Regions from separate parts of the Homo sapiens genome. Here region 1 is linked to region 2. The links are contacts of gene promoters, found by promoter capture Hi-C in human tissues and cell types (Jung and others, 2019). All regions are on one chromosome and are shown on one strand. The core of a region is centred on a gene start or on the middle of the fragment in contact, and the rest is flanking DNA. Distances in the headings are between cores, read along the strand shown.

Region 1 (6,684 bases), core at 2,003-4,502, 1.1 Mb before region 2:
GGACACCGGCTTCTGCCAGTCTAGGCCCTGGCCAGGTCCTGACCTGCTGACCCTCTCTTGGGCTGTCACCACCTCCACCCCTGTCCCCAGCCATGTCATCAATCCCCAAATCTGGTTGTTTCTGTCCCCTGCCTCTCCTTTGGGCTTGGGTTCCTACCCCTAGTTTTGTCGAGACCAGAAGTTCCAAAGACCAACGACAGAACAGAAATGCTGGGGAACTTTCTCCTTCTTTTAAACGAAAATTCTTAAATGAAAAATTACTTGAAAAATTTTAAACCACTGCAGAATTGTACCATCCTTGGCTCTTTCCCCTGAATCTCCCTGTCCCCACATGCCCCTCCCCAGAGAAGCTACAGTTAATTTAATATATGTTCTTCCCGACGTCCTAATGTATTTATATTGATCTGCGACTTGTTTTTTTTCTTTTTTTAAATCTATGTATGGATATCTAGGTTTACCTCTTTCTTTTTGCGGGCAGCAGCACTGTATTCCATTTTTGGCTGTACTCAAACTCAGCCAGTCCCTTACTGATAGATATGAAGGTTGTTTCCAGCTGTTTCTATTCCAAGAAATGCTACATAGAATATCTTCTGCATACTTGTATGAGTATATCACAGGCTAACCTCCTAGAAGGGAGAATACTTGATTAAAGGGGATACACCTTGAAGCTTTTCATGGGGACTGGCAAATAGCTCTTCAAAAAGCAGAAATTTACACTTCCGCCAATGGCGGGTGAGCACTATTTCCCTAACCTCCTGCCTATCTGGAATATAAACTGTCTCTTTAACATTAGCTAATAAGAAAGGCAAAATGGTTGTATTTGGTTCCCATTGCTGCTGTAAGAAATTACCACAAATTTAGTGGCTTAATGCAAAATTTACTATCTTATAGTTCGAGTGGTCAGACGTCTGAAATAGGTCTCACTCGGCTAAAAGCAAGGTGTCAGCAGGGCCACTTTTCTTTCTGGGGGCCCTAGAGGAGAATCCCTTTCCTTGCCTTTCCCAACTTCTAGAGGGTACCTGAATTCCTTGGCTCATGGAAGGCTCCCCTTCCACCTGCAAAGCTGGTAACAGCCAGCCGCATCTTTCTCATAACAAATCATTCTAATATTGACTCCTCTCTCCCTCTCCTAAGGACTCTTGTGATTACATTGAGTCCACCTGGATAATCTCTCCACCTCAAGATCCTTAATTAAATCACATCTACAAATTATCTTTTGCCATAATGGGCAACATATTCAGTTTCCAGGGTTTAGAATGTGGATAGTTTGGGGGTCCATTATTTTGCCTACCACAAAGATATCTTACGTTTCAGTTATAATTATTTTATTATTATTTTTTGAAATGGAGTCTCGCTCTGTTGCCCAGGATGGAGTGCAGTGACTTGATCTCAGCTCATTCCAACCTCTGCCTCCTGGGTTCATGCAATTCTCCTGCCTCAGCCTCCTGAGTAGCTGGGATTACAGGCGTGCACCACCACACCCAGATAATTTTCGTATTTTTAGTAGAGATGGGGTTTCACCATGGCGGCCAGACTGGTCTTGAACTCCTGACCTCAAGTGATCCCCTGCCTCAGCCTCCCGAAGTGCTGGGATTACAGGTGTGAGCCACCCCGCCTGGCCGATATCTTATGTTTTAAAACCTGTTTCTTGATCTCTAGAGAGGCTTAGCATTTTTGCATAAACATATTCAGTTATTTCATTTGGGAGACTATTTTTCTGGTTTACATAAACTCTTTTGATATTGAAGCTATTGATCCTTTACATATAGGTTGCAGATATCTTCTCTTTATCATTAGTCTTAGCTGTACAGAATTTTTTTTTGTTTCCATGTGGTTAAATGTACCATTAATTTTTCCCTTTATGACTTTTAGGTTTCACATCCAATATTACTTTTTAGAATGTCACCCAAATTTTCTTCTAGTTCCATTATGATTTATTTTTTCCCTCCTTTCCTCTCTTCTTTCCTTTCCATTGTCACCTTGGCTCCATCTGGCACTTATTTGTGTGTAAGGAGTGAGGTAAAGATAAAGCTTAAGTTTTTTTACTCCCTAGCTAGCCAGTTGTCCCAACAGCATTATTGAATAGTCCACCTCCCCACCTCTGAAATGTCTGTGGTGTCTGATAAAAGCACAGGTTCTAGCCCTATTCCAAATCCACTGAAATAGAATTTGTGGGAAAGGGACCCAGAATCTATATTTTTGCTAATTCCCCATGTGAATATTGTAAATCTGGCATATACTTTTCTACTGGCATTTGGGGAAGCTGATGAAATTCCTCCAACTGCCTCCTAATCACCTTGCTTCCAGGTTTCTAGCCTTCTCCCAGTCCACCCCACTCCACTATTCATTGTGGAAAGAGAAATCTCTTCAGTTGCCAAGCTCACCAGACCTCTCCCCTTGTCAGTAATTCTCAGTAGCTCCCCAATGCAGAGAGATTCAGCCATTGGCGTTTCAGTCCTGTCAAAATAGGGCCCACCCAGTCTTCCTGGCCTCCTCTCTCTCCATCCTGCTCTTACACTTTGAACTCTCTGCCTTTACACATTGTTGTTCCTGGTGGGACATGCCGAGAAAGGAGTCTGGAGACTAATTCCACAGAGGAGTCAGCATACCCTTGTTTGAGCTGGGTTTTGAACTATGGGAAGATGTTGATGGTGAGATTTGCAAGAAAGAGACTCTAGGTGGGAGGCTTGTGATGATTAATATCGAATGTCAACTTGATTGGATTGAAGGATGAAGAGGGTGTTGCCAAAGGAGATTAACATTTGAGTCAGTGGACTGGGAAAGGCAGACCCACCCTCAATCTGGGTGGGCACCATCTAATCAGCTGCCAGTGTGTCCAGGATAAAAGCAGGTAGAAGAACATGAAAAGACTAGACTGGCTTAGCCTCCTGGCCTACATCTTTCTCCTGCACTGGATGCTTCCTGCCCTCAAACATTGGACGCCAAGTTCTTCAGCTTTGGGACTCAGACTGGCTTCCTTGCTTGCAGACGGCCTATTGTGGGACCTCACCTTGTGATTGTGTGAGTCAATACTCCTCAATAAACTCCCCTTTATGTATACATCTATCCTAGTAGTTCTGTCCCTCTAGAGAACCCTGACTAATACAAGGTTCAATGTACGCAAAGCACAGGGGGCTGGAATGTGGCCACAGGAAATGTTTCAGGGCTCCAGGCAGGAGCCCCACGATGTGCTGGGATGGCTTCTGGACACTGGGAGGTGTTTCCACACGTCCCCTCCTAGGCCCCAGAATGACGAGATAAAGTCCCAAACTGTGAAGCCTCATTATGTCAAGCAGATCTTCTAACAGAGCTGTGGTCAGTGACTGCCCTCTGAAAGCAGGTGGAAGGCACAACTGGGTCCCCATGGGGTGGGCAAGGGCGCACTGCTGCTGCTGGGCTGGGCCATGCTTCCAGGGTGACCAGCCCCTCATACCCTCTGACCTGGATTCATTCATGGAAAACAGGCACAACCTAGAGTCCATAGATAGCCTGTGTTGGAAGGAAGAGGTTTTTTGCTAATCCAATGGGTCAAACAGTGCTGTTCCCCCAAGAAGCCTGGGATGTCTGCCTTGAGCCAGGCCTGTGGCTTAACCAGTTCATCAGTGTCTTCCAGGTGAACCTGCCTCCCCCTGGCCTGGGCAGGAACTAGGCTCCATTCAGATTTGCATTTCCAGTGCCTGATACAGAACTCCACACTCAGTAAAATATTAAAAATATTTAAAAACACTTAACTGACCACCTACCATGCCCAAACAAAACAAACATATTGATTCTTACACATCCCCTTTTTATAGATGGGGGCAGGGCTGAGGCTAATTGCTTCAGATCAGACACAAAAAGGCAAAGGCAGGATTTGAACCCTGAGTGCTGGCCAACATCCAGGAAACCCCCAAGGGCCCTGATCTTGGTCAGAATGACCGAGTGGATCCTACCTTCCTTCCCTGTATCTGAGATCCTCCAGGAAGTCTTCCCTGGTTAACTGCAGCCACCTACATACACTTGCATCAAAGTCCTCCCTGCATGCAAGTCACTCTGCATGACCATGTTAACCTTAGGGCTGAGTTTCTTGTTAACTGCTTTTTCCCTCAATAATGAATGGTGGATTTTTCACTGTCTGGGAGGCTCTTAAATCATTTCCCTTGGATGACTGGTCTCTGTGTTCCTACTTTTCCTTCTCCTCCTCCCTCCCAACTCCAAGACCTAAACAGGGCTTGGAATTTCTGCACACTGGTCAAAAAGCAAATTCTATCGAAAGCAAACAGAAGCCTAGGCAATCCTAGACGAGTTAGACCCGGCTGGTATTTGTCTTCCTGTTAGAGAGCTCAGGGATCCAGGTGAAACTGATATCACCAAGGAGAATGAAGTCTCCTGTGACATCCCCATAGAAAGCAAAAACACATTTCACAGTCAAGATCAAGCAATGATGTAGCAAAAACTCTACTCTGCCAGACTTGCAGAGGCCCAGATTTCCCCTGATTGTCTGTGGGCATAATAATTCAGAGGAAGATCATCTAAACCAATGTCCTGTGCCTAGACGGAGCAAATGAACTCTGACTATGTGCCAGGGCTGTTCTTAGTATGTTACGCAAATTCACTCATTTATTCCTCACAATGACCCTTCAGGCGGGTACTATTATCATTCCCATTTTACAGGTGAGGAAACTGAGGCCCAAAATCACAAAACTGATAAGTAGCAGAGACAGAACCTGAACTTGGACCATCAGGTGACTCCTGCAGTGGTGACCCTCAAGGCAGCCAGGCCACACCAGCCTCACAGAGAGGACACAGATTTGAATCACAGTCCTGACACTGCAGGTAACCAAACACTGTTTTTAGCAGCCTTCCTTTCCTTCATAAGGGCTAAGCTTGTTAACCTTTTTTTACCTTTCTCCTGGAAAAGTATCGACAGTGTTTAAGCCTTGCTTCCATTGAGACCAAAAATGAACTGACATTAGCTGCTACAGCCTTACCTCACCTACACACATCTACAAACAAGGCCCAGATGCTTGTAGCTAATTCACCTACTAAGTTATCTAATGTAATGTACATAGCTAGCTATCCACCTACCTATCTCATTGTTTATTTATATCCGATTTTTCCCATGAGGATTAAAAGAGGCATCTGGACACCCATGAGAACTCAGTGGGCATCTATGAACTTAACTCAACCTGTTTATCTTAAATGGTCCAGGAAGTGCTTGTGGGTGAAAGAGCTTAGGGAAGAACAAAGCCTGAAATGAGAGTTGCGCAGGCCCAGCAGGCTTGTCTTCTGGCCATTTGTGTCCAGCCAGTCTCTCATCAACACCGCCTAAGAGAGACCCAAATTCCACATTTGCTGCAGTGGCCTGATCTCTTGTCAGTTTCTGGCAGGTCTCTAGTGGTTCCTTTGATGGCATTTTGTTTCTATACACGTGACTGTGGCACAAAAGGCACACCTACCTACAAGCTTCCTAGGTAGTTAAGGTTCTTGTGTCTACTATGGAGAGCAATACATAGAATACACAATAATATATACACACACACACTATAAGATGAACCACAGAAGAAAAAATGACTGGGAGACTGGGTGACATACAGAGTGTAGTCCAACAGAAGAGGTGGCGACTGCCTGTGGCTTCTGTCATTCTTGCCCACATGGCAGGATAGATATAACTGTATAGTAATGATAAAGCAGTTATAACGATCACTCTACTGCAACTCATTTCTTCATTTCTCCACTCAGTCTGCAAGTACTACGTGGGCCTTCTCAATGCCAGGCCAGTAAGATGAAAACAGACATAAATCATAGGCCTTACTATAAGCTACAGTAATCAAGACAGTATAGTATCGATACAAAGAGACACAAGAAGATCAATGGAAACAGAGTAGGGTAAGGAAACATACTCCCACACATACAGTCACATGATGTTATTTATTTATTTATTTATTTATTTAGGGACAGGATCTCATTCTGTTGCCCAAACTGGAGTGTAATGGCACAATTTCAGCTCACTGCAACCTCCACCTCCTGGGCTCAGGTGATTCTCCCACCTCAGCCTCCCAAGCAGCTGGGACTACAGACACGTGCCACCATGCTCGGCTAATTTTTATATCTTTTTTTAGAGATGGGGTTTCACCATGTTGGCCAAGCTGGTCTTGAACTCCTGGGCTCAAGTGATCCACCCACCTTGGCCTCCCAAAGTGTTAGAATTACAAGTGTGAGCCACCACACCCAGTCTCAGTCACCTGATTTACAAGAAAAATGCATCTGATAGAGAAAGTAATGGTCTTTTCAATAAATGGCGCTAAAGCTATTGGATATCCATATTAAAAAATGAACCTTGACCCCCGATATCATACCATACACAGAAAACGAATGTGAAATGAATAAATGATAGGCCTGAATACAAAAGATTAAACAATAAAGCTTGTAGAAGAAAACAAGAAAATATCTTCACGGAACTTGGGGTAGGCAAAGATTTCTTACTCGATTGACAAACGCGTAATCACATAATCATAAAGGAGAGAAGCTAAATTGTGCTTCATTAAAATTTAAAACTTCTGTTCAACAAAGACTCTAATAATAGAGTAGAAAGACAAACCATGGGTTGGGAGAGGATATTTGCAACACATGTTTGAAAACAAATTCCTAAAAATGAGTAAGAAAAAGGCAGTCAACGCACCTGAAAATGGCAAAAGTTAACTC
Region 2 (6,801 bases), core at 801-3,300:
ATAATCCCAGCATTTTGGGAGGCCGAGGCAGGTGGATCACTTGAGGCCAGGAGTTCAAGACCAGCCAGGCCAACATGGCAAAGCCCTGTCTCTACTAAAAATACAAAAATTAGCCGGGTATGGTGGTGCACACCTGTAGTCCCTGCTATGCGGGAGGCTGAGGCTCGAGAATCACCTGAACCCAAGAGGTAGAAGTTTCAGTGAGCTGAGACCACTCCACTGTACTCCAGCCTGGGCAAAAAGTGAGACTCTGTCTCAAAAAATAATAATAATAAATACATAAATAATAAAATAAATAAAAAGTGTGTCAACATACTGTTTTCATAGTCAAGTTACTCAACCTCCTTGAGCCTCAATTTCTTGATTCCTAAAATGGGAACAATAATAGTTCTCTATCCCATAGGGTTGTGAGGACCAAATGAAATGAAGCATGTAAAGTATTTAGCACGTAGTAACTGCTTAATAAATGCTATCATCATTTATTTTCACTAGAGGTTTATCAATGTACTATTTTTTTCACAACCTCATCAACATTGGATATTATCAATTTTAAAGATTTATTCTAAAACAGTTGGTATAAAATTATACTGAAGCGTGACTGCTGCTGTTCCTTTTCCCCCTCCTCCCCTTTCTTCTTTTTCAGTTGGAGGAGACCAAGAGGAGAGGATCAGTAACCAGAAATAAAAATGACCCTTTACATTGAGACACACTGTATTTTTATATGTAATCCTTGCTTTCTCAGACAACAGAGCTAGAAAGATGATCATAGGAACTAGGAAATAATAACTATTTTATTAAATGCATGCTGTTATATTGAATGAGCCTTGCCCAAGGTCCCCTTCTTTCACTAAATTCATTGCATCTATTATTTATTGAATACCTACTATATGCTATTCAGTAGGCGACATTGCAGCTACAGCTGCGAATAGGACCAGGAGAGTCTCTACTTTCATGGAGTTTATATGCTATCAGGGAGGAAGATTATGTGTGTGTGGCAGGAAATGAGGTGTAGACACATACCATACGAAGATAATGTGGAAGTGGGGGTGGCATGAAGAAAACAAACCAGTGATCTGAATGACCAAGGGCTACTTTAGATTAGGTCTAATGTTGCCTCTCAGGAGGTAACATCTGGGGTGAGCCCTGAACTACAAGGAGCATTACTTCCCACACGCATACCCCAACCAACCCCCACAATCCCCCGCCAACCCACATTAAGTTCTGGAAGGAATATTTCAGACAGAAGTAACAGCTATTACAAAGCCCTAAAGAGAGGAGGGATCTCAGTGACCTGGAGGAACAGACAGGTCAGAGCACAGTAACTAAGGGCAAGTGGTACAAGATGAGGTCAGGTACGTGATAGCCAGATAAATGCACTGTAGGGCTTCGTATGCACGGAATTGGATTTTATTCTAAATATGGGAAGCCAGGAGTTATTTTTAAAATAAATAGGAAGCACAAGAGTTATTTTAAAAATAAAAAATAAAAAACTCTAGTTGCTTTATGGGAAATGAATTGGAAATGACAAAACTGGTAGCTTTTGTGGCAGAACAAACATTATCTATTGTCCTGACTTAGAGGAAGGGATATTTACTTAGCAAGCCTGTACGTGCCAAGCTGTTCTAAACGCTGAGGATGAACAAACCAGAGTTCCTGCCTTCACGGTGTTCACACTAGCGGGCAGAAGACAGACAGCACGTGTGGCGGTGCAGAGGGCTTGGCTGCAAGAGCCGATAAGGAGGACCCTGGCGACTGCCTAGTCCAAAAGTCCTAGCTAGAGCAAGATCAACTTGTACTGCCCTTAGTACAGCCACGTGAGTGGGGTGACCATTGACCTTAACCAAAAAGATGTCAAGGCTTTCCTCCTCCTCACTCCCGCGTCCCCAGTGCCAGGCAGAGTCTCTCAGCTAGACCCTAGCAGTCTCAGCACACACCGCACGGGGCGACAGCTTCCGGGGGCGGAGCCTGGTCTCGCTCCACGTCTACCGCGCCTGCTCCCCGGACGAAATCCGCGGACCGGGCTTTAGGTTCGCCGGAATCCCACGCTCCCGACTTCTGCTTCCGGGTCGGAGCCATGGCGGTGGCAAATTCAAGTCCTGTTAACCCCGTGGTGTTCTTTGATGTCAGTATTGGCGGTCAGGTGAGATCCAGGAGGCTGCCCACACCTGCGCCGAAGGGAAACTGCTCGGGGCTAGGCAGGCAGAACTCACCCAGAGAGAGCGGACTCGGGAAGCCAGCCAGAAAGTGAAATTGCACCCGAACCTACCGACCTGCCGGGCGGGGGGAAAGGAGGAGGAGGAGTCTCCCCAATCCTAGCGCCCCGCTTCTGGAGGAACTGGGCGGTTAGACTAGGGAGGCGGAGGTGGGAGATACCGAGCGGCAGGGTGGTGGGTCAGCCCATCATGCCCCCTGCTCCGTGAAGCCCTCATGGTCTTGGACTGGGCCTTCTGACACTCTCCCGCTGATTGCAGGAAGTTGGCCGCATGAAGATCGAGCTCTTTGCAGACGTTGTGCCTAAGACGGCCGAGAACTTTAGGTAAGGACGTGCTCCAGCTCCGCTGGATTAGCTGAGGCAGAAGTCGGGCTCCAGTCAGCCGCCTGAAATAGCCTGTCTACCTCTGTCCGTCCGCTCACTGCTCTTGAGACCTGATTCCTCCATGCATTGCTCTGTCTGGTTGCCGTTTGGATTGTTCCCGTGTTAATTTACGTTGTTAGTCTGTGTGACTGCGTGTCTGGACGTCTGGCTGGCCGATTGGTGGACTTGCTGGCTCCAGTGTTTATTCTTTCCCGTATTTAGAGGCGCTCACGACTGTGACATCATAGTGATTGAATCATTCATTTTTTGTCCCTTTCAGGCAGTTCTGCACCGGAGAATTCAGGTCAGTTTCAGATGTGTTTGACTTCTTTGCCTGCTCCAGAGGGGTGTTCTGGGGCTGCAGTGAGGGTATCGGTGAACCACCTGCTGGCCTTGAATGATTGCTGGTGACAGTGATAGAAGGTAATGCCCCAAGGGTCTGTCCCTAGTTTATTTGCCTTCTTTATGTCTGTCAACCATCTTTAGGAGAGTCCTTTTGGCTCCAGTGCATGGTAAACTGGAAAGGCCTTGTGCTACCTGCTGTCACTCCAAGTCTCTTTCTTTTCGGTTATAGGAAAGATGGGGTTCCAATAGGATACAAAGGAAGCACCTTCCACAGGTAAGGCTCTTGGCAAGCCATCCTGGAGTCTTTCAGAAATATTTCCTGGGGGATTAGGCTCTTTAGAGGAAAATAAAACCAGAGGGTAATTCTTACATTTCTTGAGAAGAAATGTTTTTGTGGACTCAACAACTGAAGATTTATTAAATGTTCTAACTCTACTTACACTCCCCCACTTCTTAGGTCTTTAAAACAGAAACTACTCATCTTTACAATATCTTGTCTTTTTCATGCACTTGTTTGTGCGAATGCAGATTTTTTAAAAAGTACACTTGTAATCCTAAAGTGCATATAATATATCCTGCTGGTTGATATTTATAACTAATTCCTAAAATGATCATATATGATTGTCCAAGGATAATCATATTTCCTGGGGAGTGGAGTATGTCAACACTTAGTCTCATTTCAATATAGAATCTTTCTCATGGCCTCACTGTGGTTAGTAACAATGTTAGCACATAATTATATCACAGCTTTAGAGCTTTGGGTCTCTAATCCCCAGTAAGACTCCTGTGAAGTGGTATGGGTGATCTGCATTCTACAGAGGAGGAAACTGAGGATAAGAAAGGTTAAGGACCCTCCCTAGGGGTAATAGCTAACAGTTGTTAAGCCCTTACATGTTTAGCAGTACATTTCACATAAATTCTCTGTAGTTCTTTCCCCCAAATTTACATCAAACCCTTGCTCTGCCTTTTGCTTTGGCAAGTAAGCTTTCAGCCCCTTCTTCTTATTACTGTTCAGGTACCAGATCATGCACTTGATCAACTCTAACATGCCCTAATTTATAACGAAAATCCTTTTTTATGGTTAATTATCCTTTCAGCTTAATCATTCAGGAAAAGAATAATCTTCAGGTTTTTTTTGTTTTGTTTTGTTTTTTTGAGACAGAGTCCCACTCTGTCGCCCAGGCTAAAGTGCAGTGGCATGATCTTGGCTCACTGCAACCTCCGCCTCCTGGGTTCAAGCAATTCTTCTGCCTCAGCCTCCCGAGTAGCCAGGACTACAGGCATGTGCCACCACGCTCGGCTAATTTTTGTATTTTTAGTAGAGACGGGGTTTTGCCATGTTGGCCAGGCTGGTCTCAAACTCCTGGCCTCATGTGATCTGCCTGCCTCGGCCTCCCAAACTGCTGGGATTACAGGCGTGAGCTACCGCACCCAGCTAAGAGTAATGATTTTATAATAGCCAAAGTGATAGTGTATTTTGAAATCAACGTTAATCTAATACAATAATAACAACATCTATGTTTTTCTAAACCATAAAATCTTCTCAGTATTCTTTGCTCTCTGTTTCAGGGTCATAAAGGATTTCATGATTCAGGGTGGAGATTTTGTTAATGTAAGTACTATTCCTTTCCTATCAAAGACCCGTAGTTTTAGTTTTTGTTGTTATTGTTGCAATTGCTGTTTTTACTACAGAGACCCAGTCTTCAGGCTTGAGAACAATAGCCAGGTTTGATGTGGGTGTTGGAGAGAATGGTGATGGGGAAGTTCTTGAAAGTGGCTGGGTACGACTGACTGTAGATAACCGACTTTAGCACTTTGATTGAGGCATTAAATTCCATGGTCCAAATCTCAGCCTTTTTGAGCCAGAAATTGGACTTTTTAAGAATACCTATAGATGATCTATGATAGGTTCACACTAATTAGTCATATGAAACTTAGTCAGAAATCAGCTGTGGTTTTTGTTTTTTTCTGAATGGAGGTAAGTCTCCTTCTAGTGGGCTAAATGCTTGTTTCATTTTCTCTTTTACTTCTGGGTGTCACAGTGCCTGGAAAGCTGAGTTTTTCATAAGAAGTTGATTTGTGGGCAAGGAATCAGAGCAAGAGAGGTAGATAGTTCTGGAGGAATTTTGCTCTATTCACTGAGAGAGCCCAGTGAAATAGTTCTTTTTTGCTAACCATAGCTTTCTTGTAAGTAGACTGTTTTTGTCCCCCATATGAAGCCTCCCTCCCCACCCCAACCTTGGAGGGTGTGGGATAAACTACATTTTTTCTTTCTTAAACCTGCTTTTGTCCTTACCCCCCACTTCTGAATGGTCTTTCTTTACTCTTATTAATATCATTTGGTTAGTTGTGTTGCTGTTTTCTTGGATCTGGGAGACATGTGTTCTCTTTTATGTGTTTATTTAGTCTGAATCTCATGAGTTTTTAAGACCTCTTTCCTTTCCTATGCAATACAGGGTTGCAGAGTGGCAGGTTTTAGGCCGAATTACGTTTTTACCTATGTTTTGATTCATCTGCATGGTGTTGTATAACTGTGAAATGGCACAAAAAAATCCTAGTTTTTTTTTCTCTTTAAAAAATGGAAAGTGGAAGTATGCTGGGCCTGCATTTCTCACAGTGGCAGTGACAGTGACAATTGGTTGGAATCAAGGAACTGGTCCCTTTGGACATGGCATATCTTTGCCATTTCACCAGTCTCCACAACTGTTTCCCTTATTTACGTTGCCTGCTCCTGTGGGCATTTGTTTGCAGCCCCGGGAAACAGATAATGGTAGTAGGGTTTGTTAGCTGGTAAGAAGGGCTGAGAAGCTATCCTCTGCCTTCTTTCCTTTTTTTTCCCCTAGGCTTCCCTGTTGCCTTACAAGGAGAGGAATAGCTTTTTACTAGTCTTTGCCCCAGGCACATCTGATCACTTGTCGATAACTCTGGGGTTAGACAATAGTTGCTCAGTCTGAAGGCCGAGTTAAAAGCAATTGCTGGTAGGGCTCACATCTGTAATCCCAGTACCTTGGGATGCTGGGAGGATTGCTTGATCCCAGGAGTTTGAGAACAGCTTGGCAACATAGTAAGACCCTGTCTCTACAAAAATAAGAAAAGTTATTTTTTATTTTTTTATTTTTGGTGGTGTGCGCCTGTAGTCCCAGGTACTTGGTAGGCTGAGGTAGGAGGATCCCTTGAGCCCAGGAGGTCAATTCAAGGCTGCAGTGAGCCATGTTCATACCACTGCACTCCAGCCTGGGCGACAGAGCAAGACCTTGTCTAAAGGGAAAAAAAAAAAGCTTGCTTAGAACCTTCCTTGGGGAAGGCAAAATGGAATGAGCAAGAGTCAGAAAAATCAGAATTTGAGACCTTCCAAAGTTTGACCAAGAATATTTGTTTGTTCATTTATTTTTGGTTTTAATAGTATTTATTATTTTGGTTGCAAAAGAAAAGTGCAAAGAAGAAAATAAATCACCAAATGAATTACCCTCATTCTCACCTCACAATATACTATTGGCATTTTGGTTTACAGTTGTCAGTCTTACCTTAGTATGTATATGTGTGTTTATATAATTTTTAACAGACTTAAAATAATCTATATGTTTTACTTTTTTTGTACTTCATAATTGTCCATATTTTCCCTTGTCGTTATGTCTTCTAAAACATGCTTTCTAATAGCCACCTAATATTTCATTATGAATAGACAAGTTATTTGATCAATTCACTATAGTTGAAGATAAGTTGCTTTCTATTGTTTGCTCCAAATTATTAATTTTGTAATTTTCCCTATTGTTTCTGGAGAGCTATAGATAACGTGATTACGGAGAATGGCACGGTAACTGATGTGTCCCTTAGGTTCACTGGGAAATTGGAGATGAACTTGTTTTCTCTCTTCCTTCTGT

The links. Contacts are between HindIII fragments. The study calls those that stand out against the background at their distance.
Region 1: a contact is called between a fragment that was not itself captured here and the fragment with the promoter of PPIH in region 2, in 1 of the 25 tissues and cell types used here (dorsolateral prefrontal cortex).

Annotation. Positions count from the first base shown.
Region 1 is chr1:41,592,901-41,599,584 of GRCh38, forward strand. All of the region lies in intron 3 of HIVEP3 (HIVEP zinc finger 3), which reads right to left. The region is part of intron 1 of LOC128125817; the gene reads right to left. Among named protein-coding and RNA genes, the nearest start is that of EDN2, 110 kb to the left of the region's middle. The HindIII fragment of the contact is 3,806 bases long and covers 1,350-5,155 here.
Region 2 is chr1:42,656,373-42,663,173 of GRCh38, forward strand. It overlaps PPIH (peptidylprolyl isomerase H), which reads left to right and starts at 2,051. Exons shown (of 10, transcript NM_006347.4): 1 at 2,051-2,140; 2 at 2,472-2,536; 3 at 2,856-2,879; 4 at 3,150-3,194; 5 at 4,490-4,532. The coding sequence starts at 2,075. CCDC30 (coiled-coil domain containing 30) reads left to right here. Exons shown (of 21, transcript NM_001395517.1): 21 at 1-818. All of the region lies in intron 1 of LOC124904162 (a long non-coding RNA gene), which reads right to left. The HindIII fragment of the contact is 7,698 bases long and covers 1-5,051 here.